Linked DNA regions of Homo sapiens: region 2 is linked to region 1. Evidence: promoter capture Hi-C in human tissues and cell types (Jung and others, 2019). All regions are on one chromosome and are shown on one strand. The core of a region is centred on a gene start or on the middle of the fragment in contact, and the rest is flanking DNA. Distances in the headings are between cores, read along the strand shown.

Region 1 (5,031 bases), core at 166-2,665:
CTGGCTAATTTTTTTGTATTTTTAGTGGAGACGAGGTTTACACCATGTTAGCCAGGATGGTCTCGATCTCCTGACGTCGTGATCCGCTCGTCTCGGCCTCCCAAAGTGCTGGGATTACAGGCGTGAGCCACCGCGCCTGGCCTACTCCACTCTTCAAAAAATTAAGATTTAGCATGTTAATTAAACAACTGACTATCTAAAATATTAGTTCTGTGAGAGTAAGAAAGGTGTCGTGTATATTGCTCTGTCCCTAATGTTTACAACCTTCTTTATACATAGCAGACTATCAATCAATATTGGTGAATAAATAAATGATGCATGCCATAGAGTTATAACTACCTACTGTTGTAGCCCCTTACCACTATTAAAAGTGTTTAAAGTTATGAAGTTAAATCACTGCGATTGAAAATATTAAACGTGAAAGATTACCAATTAATGTGGACAAGGAAAAATAATGCTTCCCTTTTCTAATCAACTCCCTCAGTCCCTTAAGTACCATTGAGGTGGCTTTAGTTGAGTTTGGATGTGTAAAGGTTGCCTGTTTGCCACTTGCCAGCAGATGGCCTAATTCTTCCATCATTCACTAAGTATTGGAACTATTCTTTATAAAGAAAAGCAGTTGGTGAGAAATAACTTTCCTCTTGATTTTTTTTTTATTTTTAGCAGAGACAACATTTTAGTATATTTCCCATTATTTTTCATTGGATTAAATAATTGATTAGATATGCTAATTTTAACATAGCCTATTCAATAAGGAATCAATTCCTAATCAATAAGGAAAGAGTACACTTTTTTTTTAATATATGCCAAATCATCTAGGACGATCTATAGAGGTGACATACTAATATCATTGCCTTGGGGATAAATTGATTCATCAGCATCTATGAGTAAATGAGACTCTTTATGTTCCTCTAGACAGTCCTTACAAGTCATTTAAAATATTGTTCACATATAGATGACTTTATAAATTTTTCTGAAATTCAGTGAAAAGAACTGTGATGTTCACTCATTTTACCTGTAACAAATTTGCTCATGTTTCTGAGGTTATTTACAAATTTATAACTTAACTGTAAGGGAAAAGCATTTTTTCATTTGTAATACATACCAAATTCATTATTTATGAGTAAATATGAAAGAGATAATATGTAAAAAATAAGAGAAAGAGCAAGAGGTGGAGGGAGGAATTATTAATTAATTTAATTAAGTATACTCTTTTTGATATTCTACTTTATTAACTCTACTAATGTAAAAATATATCATTCCATTATTTACTTTCTTTTGAATCTTGTCTACCTCTTTAGGGGCATTAAATATTCAATTGTTGTGTGCTATTTAAATGTCAGCACTATAAGAATGGGGCTACATCTGTCTCATTTATTACTGTTTACATATTGACCACCTGCAACAGTGCCTGGCATATGGAAATAATTCATTTAATATTTATGGACTGCATCAATTTTATTTTGAGCACCTTTTCTAAGGTAAACCATTAGGAAAGAACAATGAAATGTGGCATAATGATAGGGCATCTTAATCTTAGGCTGTTCAGAAATTAAAATAATCTAGCCAGTTATTTATCGAAAACTTGCTCCATCATACCTGTTTGTATCTTGAAACACATAGCTCCCTCTTTTTGATGTATTACTTGTTGCAAAAGTTACCCAGTAAATAAAGATTCTTCTTGAGGGAAATCAGTGATCTGTCCCCCATCCTAAGATGTCATCACAAAAAATTGAAATGAAAATAGAAAGAAATTCCAGAAATAGCATCAACAATGCTATGCTTGTGCACTCTGAAAATTAGGAACTGGGTTCATGGTGCTTGGTTTATTTATTATAATTAATAAGTATTTTAAGTCCTTTTAGGAATACTAACTATTACATCCTAAAATGTTTTTCAAAAGAAAATGGAAAGGCTATAAAAAGGCATTTTAACCATTTTTATCCCTGATACTCCATTTCCTTTCATTTGTGGCTTACCCAGGATTTTGAAAGAAGAAAAGTAGGCTCTTCTGTTCCCATCATGGCAACTGTCTGATTAGCCTTTTAAATGCATTTGATATTGTACAGATATTGCTTCAGTATTTAGAGAAGAAAGACACTTTTGTCTCCCAGTGGAACTGTGATTGCTTTCTTCTTTGACAGTTTACAATATTGTTTTGTCTTTTGTTAAGCAAATCATTGGAAAATTATTTTTTGTGAAACATGAATGTGGTATTTAAGATTTATGATTGTGTCAGTTTTAATCCATATTTTAAAAATAAAACCCTCAGGAAAAGAGTATACCCTCACTAAATACATACCACAACTGATTTACTGACATAAATATATATTTGTAGTTAAAAATAATAATGTTTAAACATAAATTTAAAAACCTAGATCTTTCAATAGAGAGTTCAAAATCCTAGAAAATTCACAATAGCCTAAATATGGCATCAACCTAAATATCCATCAGTGGATATATCAATAATAAAAATGTGGTATATGTACCCAATGGAATACTATTTAGCAATAAAAAGGAATGACATCCTGTCATTCACAACAACACGGATGAGCCTGGAGGACATTTATGAGTGAAATATGCCAGGCATAGAAAGATAAATACCACAGGTTCTCCCTCATATGTGGAGGCTAAAAAAAATTGAGCTCATAGAAATGGAGAGTAAAGTTCTGGTTATTAGAGGCTGCGAAGGGTGGGAAAGAGGAGAGGCTAAAGAGGGGTTGGTTAGCTAATACAAAGTTAGGGTTAGATGGATGGAGTAAGTTATATTGTTCTGCAGCACTGTAGGATGGATATGGTTCACACTAATTTAGTATGGACTTTCAAAAAGCTAGAAGGGAGGATTTTGAATGTTCACAACAAAAAGAAATCATAAATATTCACGGTGGTAGATATGCTAATTAGCCAGATTTGATCATTACACTTTGTATACATGGACGGAAATGTCACTCTGTACCCCTTAAATATGTACAATTATTACTTGTCAACTACAAATAAAAGGAAATAAATAAATAAGCAGGGGATGGGAGACAATCTCAGAAGATTCTGGAAGGATGTTTGGTGCTGTAAAGTTGATTTTTAAGGATAACATGAAAGTTATAACTCAACTTCAGAGTTCTATCTCCCTTATCCAATACTTTCAGTGTGTAAAAAATAAAAGATGTCTGCACAAGCTTATTTACTTTAAAAATGTTTTTAGGAAGTTTCTCAAATGTGCCCAAGAGACTTTGGATATTAGTATCGGTAAACAGAAAAATGTTAACACTTTTATATTCTTAATGCATAGATGATTGTTGCTTTCAAGATTTTGCTTATATTTTGGGTAATTAACAAATTTATGCTACATTCCTTACTATCAACAAAGGAATTTATTTATATTCTTCACAATGTATCATTATTTTATCTAAATTTTCTGATTTTAAAAATAATTCAAAAAAGCATGCAGTAAGCAACACCTGGAATTTGAACTCTGCTAAGTAACAATAAAATCATGATTCGAATCATTTCTTTTTTTATATAAAAAGGATATTTAGATTGTAAATTTCATGTTGTGCCCTTTTCTTATTGATTGGTTGGTTGATTCAGGGACAGAGATATTATTAGAGGTAAGCATTATTTGAGACAAAATGATGAACAAAAACAGATTAAAATCTCTGCCCTTAACAATTTACATTGTAGTGGCAAATAACAACATATGTAATTAAATAGATATTACGTTACAAAATGGTAAGCAAGAAAGGGAAAAAAGAAATATATCCTGGCTGTATTGTTTACCAGCTAGGTGACTTTAGTCAAGAAACTTTCTCTAATGCCCAATTTTCTGCGTTTAAAATGGGCCTAATGCTTACTACAAATGGATGTCATAAAAAGTAAATGAGATAGTAAATATCAACCGCTTGACTAAGTGCTTGGTATATAGTTACATCTCAATTAAAATCATAATAAGTCATTTTAATTAGCAGTATCTAAAAACTTTCATTTAATTGGGGAGCAACAATATGAATTTTCAAACAGTGATTGATAGAGATGGATAGATAGGGAGTGTTAAAGGAGAAAAAGAAGTAAGGAATAATGTTATTTAGATGGATTCATGGATGTTATGGGTTTTAAACTGGATTTTACACAATTTTGGGGGGATGACTTGTTTTTTAAAAAATCATGGGTGAAGGGGAATTATATACATGAAAGGGTGGTGTGAGCACAGGTTTTCTTAAAAAAAATATGAAATACATACCATGGGAAAGAACAGTTAGGTGACATTCAGTACTAGGCCCTAGACCGATTCTTGATATTTTTTGCTGATAGAAAAAGGCACTTTCACTAAACAAGTGTTTTACCCCAAAAGATGTTAAAACAGAAATTGGTAACAGAGATATGCTAATTAGAAAAAAAAAACCTGAAAGACAAAGGCTGTGATAAAGCAAACATCTCTCTGTACACCGGAAGAGGAATCAATGTTAGGGTTACCAGAGAAGGCTGAATTCGCAAATCCCAGTAGACCTGGGATATCTCTACTCCAGTTAACTAGGACACGGACGGAAACTCTTCTCGAATTCCTGAGAGCAGTTCAACAAGGGCAATATTAGCCTTCAGTAGAGGAAGGTGACTACTGTATTCAGAAAGTCACAAAAACAGGGAGTCTACTTAAACAGTAAATAAAAACATTGTGTAATAAAGCTCAGTTTTAAGAAGAGTAGCACAGAGAATGCAAGGTAAAGAATGGAGGAGCAGAATGAGAATGAGGCAAAGGTGGGAATTCAGAAATAAGGCTAGTTTATTTTTCATAATTGGAGACTTGATTTACTTCAGAGTTTATGAGGATCATTTTTATTTCATTTATTTATTTAAGACAGAGTCTTGCTCTGTTGCCCAGGCTGGAGTGTAGTGGTGTGATCTCAGCTCACTGCAACCTCTGCCTCCAAGGTTCAAGCGATTATCCTGCCTCAGCCTCCTGAGTAGCTGGTATTACAGGCACCCGCCACCACACCTGGCTAATTTTTTGTATTTTTTTAGTAGAGACAGGGTTTCACC
Region 2 (4,921 bases), core at 2,422-4,921, 1.5 Mb after region 1:
TGAGAGGATCGCTTGAGCTGGGGAAGTCAAGGCTGCTGTGAGTCGTGATTGCACACTGTGCTCCAGCTTGGGCAAAAGTATGAGACCCCATCTCTAAACAAACAAACAAACCAAAAAAATAAAAATAAAATGAATAAACAACAACAACAAAAAACCTTCTGAAACCTATAAATTAACAGGAACACTTCAAAATAATCAATCACATCACCTTATTTTCTCCCTTCACAGAATCTAATAATAAGGATTTTAGTCTAATGTCTTAAAGTCAAAAGGGAAAAATAAATAACATTTATTAAATACCTATCACGTGTGAGACACTGATAATTACACACATAGTCTCATTTAACTGCCACAGCAATTCTATAAAATTACTAGTGCTATCCCCATTTTATTTACGGAGAAACTGAGCTACCGGATGTCATCTGAAGGTAAGGGATGCCTCTGGTTAATTCAGTCGAGTGACTTGTCCAAGACGGTAAAGTCAGGACTACAACTTAAGTGGTTTGACTATTAGTTTAGAACTGTTACAGCACAGTTGCTTCTGGAAGTTGCAGAAATCATAACCCTGATGTCACTAAGATGTTAACAAATGTTCTGAGAAATAAGTACTCTGTGGTTCAGTTTTTGGAGAAGTTACATCCGAATTTTCCAGAACTTAAATAGGCAAATTCTTCTTCAAAAAAGTAATAAAATGGGAAGTGTTCTAATTTATTAAACCATGAAACCCTCTGTTTTAACGAAAACCTAATAATATACCATGGGATGCTTGTGTTCAACTAAGCAGTCTGGAAAATGATCATCTGGTCCAATCTCCTCATTCCATGGTTTTAAAAAATGAGATGCAGGGAGGTGAAGTGACAGCAAGATACTAACAGGGTCAGGGCTGGCACCAAGGAGGCCTGATGATTCCCATCAGGATACCCTTTCCCCTAATCATCCTGTCTCACTCTTTCTACAAAGTTTAACACCAATTTTTTTTTAAGTATTACATCAATCATTTATTCTGATTTTACTGAATGACAGTAAAGAGAAACCATTTACAGACATGAAGCTCGAAAATGTTCTACCTCCCAATGCACTAGTATTTCAGAGACTTGGAATATATTTGGAGATGTGGAAAATGATTACACTTTAGTAACACTGAGTAACAATTTTAGGCCAAGTATACTACACTCATATTTTTTTTGAAGTGAGACATTAGTCCACCCTAGTACTGCATACAGACACACTGAGTAATAAATATCCAATCTGTGATCATCTTTATAAAGGGCAATTTATTCGTTGCTTTCCCCTTACCCCATTCGCCCTAGAGTGGCTTCGTTTCACTTTGCCCTACCCCTTCTAGCAGGTAGTAAACAGTCCTGGCCAGTGATGCCATCTGGCGGTTAGTTCAGAAATTGTTTAACCAACACACCTTCCAATCAGGATCTTACCATCGGGACCCTCTCCAAAACCACACTCCCCTTTCTTCCAGTTTTTGCCCATTTACCTTAGTAAAATCGGGTTTTCTTCTTTCCTGCCCTGTTTATCCAACTGAATGAAAAACGTATTTTATTTGTGGCACTCTAGTTACAGAAAAATCATGAGTCCTAAGTACATTTGCAGCTAAAGAAACAAACCAACAATAAGAGGCCAACATACTCCCAAAAATGCCCCCATTCGACATCCTGTCTTAACAGAGACTGTTAGAATCTCCGTTATTCATCCAATGCCTTCAGGGAATACCAGTGCTGAGAAGGACCTTGAGGATCATCGTTTCAAGGTCAAAAGCTTCATTTTACAGCTGAAGAAACTGGCTCTGTGAGAAAGAACTGAAGTAACCACCCACCCAACAGCACACAGCGAGTTAACGGCAGAGCCAAGATTATGGCCTAGGACTCCCCATTCCAAATCCGGTACTGGGTCAACTACTCTGTGCGCTCCTGGCTTCTCAAGCCTGTTTTTGCTCAACCAGTGTATTTACTTTTTCCATAATTATAGTAATATTGTGAATCTCTGTACTATGCCTAACAGTGTCTAGCACACTTCATAAATATTTATTATTTGGGTATCTATTAATTACCGTACTTATTGCAAATCTAGAATACTTGCAGTAGACAGGCCTTTTTTCAATCTGCTTAAAAAGCGAACTGCCACTTCATAATTTTTTCTGACTATTCCCATTAATCATCACATGGTAACCTTTTAGAACATAATCCATTCAGAAATTTGAGACTTCCTGTTCACCTGATCAGTCTTAACCAAAGATAGAAGAAAATATGTGGCATAGGGTGAAAACTGCAACCAATTTTGAAGAAAATAGAAATTCTAGTACTAGTTGCATTATAATCACACGACTTTAGGCAAACTCTTCTTTCCCACAAAATAATCCTCGACCCTAAACTCATGTAGCATAACTGCAAATCTCTCATAAATTACAAATATCTATAATGATTATCGGTATTAACAATAGTAATTTATATTTTAGGCCCTGTGACTAATCAGTTTACATATATAATGTCATGTAATACTTGCAGCCCTATTTTACGGATGAGAAAAAACAAGGCTTAGCAACTTAAACTCGTCCGGGGTCACAGAGTTAAGACGTGAAGAACTCGAGGGCCTGCTTAGAACTGAAAGCCTCCAGAGCCAGTGCTCCGAAAAGGGGAGCGATAATGCAAGGCCCACTTTGATACTACCACTCCAAGGCTCTGCAGTCAGTGGGGAGTGAAGGCAAGCGACCGACATCGCTATTTTCTGTTACGGTTAACGTACACAGTGAAACAATGGGGTACACGGAACAATGAGTCACGAAGACCTGGGTCCTTTCTCTGAGCTCGGCAACTCAGGGACCCCCCCGAAGTCGCTTAGCCTTCTGGGCTTGTTCAGCTTGGGGAGGAAAAGGGGCTGCTCCGGAACCAACGAGGCTTTGGATGGTGGATCACACTCAGGGTGTAAACTTGTGCGTACCAAGTCAAGCTTCTGGGGAAAGAACCTTCATCAGAGTCCCTCCAAAAAAAGAAGACGCGCTGGATTAGGCATCCGCAAAGTTCCGCCTGCCTCTCCGACGTCAGGGAGCTCCCGCAGTAGGAGGTTTCTTACGCCTCTAGGAAGGCCGGCGTGTGGGCGGGCTCTGCCTTCCCTTCCTCACTGAGTTGTGTGAACCGGGAACGGCGGCCGGGCCGGCTAATGGCTGCAGGCCGCCGCGGGGTGGCCGCTTGCACTCTGCCTACCCCTCGGGGAGGGCGGCTGGCAGGGCACAGGGCGCTATCTACCCCCCAGCCGGCAGCCCTGCGCCTCTGCTCTCCGCTTTGGGGTCTTGATCCGCCGCCTCCTCGCTGGCAGTTCTCGTGACTCGGTGCGCGCTCCCGCGGGAAGTAAGGTGGCCTGGACCGCGCGGCTACCGCTGAGGGCCCCAAAAAGAGAGAAGGGAGACCGCGCGGGGCGTCCCAAGTGTCCCCCATTCCATCCCCCACCCAGGTTTCTCCGGTGCGCCGCTCGGCGAACCTCCGGGAGCTACTTACTAAAGAAGAGGCGGTAATTCTGCGAGCAGGGCTGGCCGCGCTCCTCAGTGTGGTACAGGGCCATAGCACGGCGCGACCCGGTCCCTGCACTGGTCCCCAACCGCAGGCACGCAGCGGCTGGGGCACCCGTGCGCAGCAGCCGCAGCAGCGCGCTCATGGCGTCAATGACGGTCCTGCTGTGCGCGCGGAGCTACCTGGGGGCTCGGCCGGGCCGCACGCCGGTGCCCCCTACCGTCCGGAGTCATCCCTCCCGCCCCGGCGCTCGGGCTGCGATCCTGGTCCCTGCCAGTGGAATCTGGAACACCAGCCAGTTGTGCGCACTATGCCCTCAGCGAGGCCGCAGCTCAAAGACGAGTGAGACAAGACCCACCACCCCTGAAGAGCTCACTGCCACTCGTTAATTCATACATTTATTCATGCCTTCATTTATCCCGTCAAGAATTACTATCATGATTTTTTAGTATAGTGATGTAATATTGAGTGATTACTCTGTGCCAGGAACTGCTCTAGACCCTGTCCAATATAGGAGATGAGCGCACATGCACGCAAAGACATCACTATAAGACAAAATGATCAGGCCACCACGTGAAAACGGGACGTTGACACCGACTTACAGAGCAAAAAACCCTAAGTAGCTTACTCAAATGCCATCTTCTCCATAAGGCCATTTCCTAACCCAGTAGAGATTATTTATTCTTTCTTTTATTTTATTATTTTTTGTTGTTGTTTTGTTTTTGAGACGGAGTCTCACACTGTTGCCTGGGCTGGAATGCAATGGTACAATCTCGGCTCACTGCAACCTCCGCCTCCTGGGTTCAAGCTATTCTCCTGCCTTAGCCTCCTGAGTAACTGGGATTACAGGCATGCGTCACGACGCCTAGCTAATTTTTGTATTTTTAGTAGAGACAGTTTCCCCATGTTGGTCAGACTGGTCTCGAACTCCCGACCTCCATTGATCCGCCTGCGTTGGCCTCCCAAAGTCCTGGGATTACAGGCGTGAGCCACCGCGCATCGGCCAGGCGGGGTGGCACACACGCCTGTAGTTCCAGCTACTTGGGAGGCTGAGATAGGAGGATGGTTTGGGCCAGTATCCAGGAGAATGGATATTGTAGAACAACCAGTAGTCTGCCACGTGTCATTTTATTTTTTTCTAGTCCATCTTCTTTGGGACTATCATCATCTAGGCTACTTTCCTACTGGGCACCCAGGTTCTTTCAGCATCTCCAATTATCGTGTGATCATTAAAATTGAGATACTGGTCTACCCAAGTTCCAGAAAGGATTCCTAGGAGATATTGTGACTAGCTACTTAGAGACACTCTACTAAGATTATAGATCCTAAAATGTTTTTGTCAACAGTGGTACCTTTGTAATGTGTCAACTTGAATAGGCATAACTATAAGGCAAATGCTCCCATAA

What was found. The method cuts DNA at HindIII sites, captures the fragments that hold promoters and counts their contacts. A contact is called where the count stands out against the background at its distance.
Region 2: the fragment with the promoter of PPA2 here is called in contact with a fragment that was not itself captured in region 1 in 1 of the 25 tissues and cell types used here (lymphoblastoid cells).

Annotation. Positions count from the first base shown.
Region 1 is chr4:104,015,318-104,020,348 of GRCh38, forward strand. The region is part of intron 5 of LINC02503 (long intergenic non-protein coding RNA 2503); the gene reads left to right. Among named protein-coding and RNA genes, the nearest start is that of LINC02503, 56 kb to the left of the region's middle. The HindIII fragment of the contact is 5,615 bases long and covers 1-4,223 here.
Region 2 is chr4:105,470,391-105,475,311 of GRCh38, forward strand. It overlaps PPA2 (inorganic pyrophosphatase 2), which reads right to left and starts at 3,672. Exons shown (of 12, transcript NM_176869.3): 1 at 3,504-3,672. The coding sequence starts at 3,660. RefSeq lists enhancers at 2,853-3,022, 3,313-3,432 and a silencer at 3,653-3,862. The HindIII fragment of the contact is 4,779 bases long and covers 2,365-4,921 here.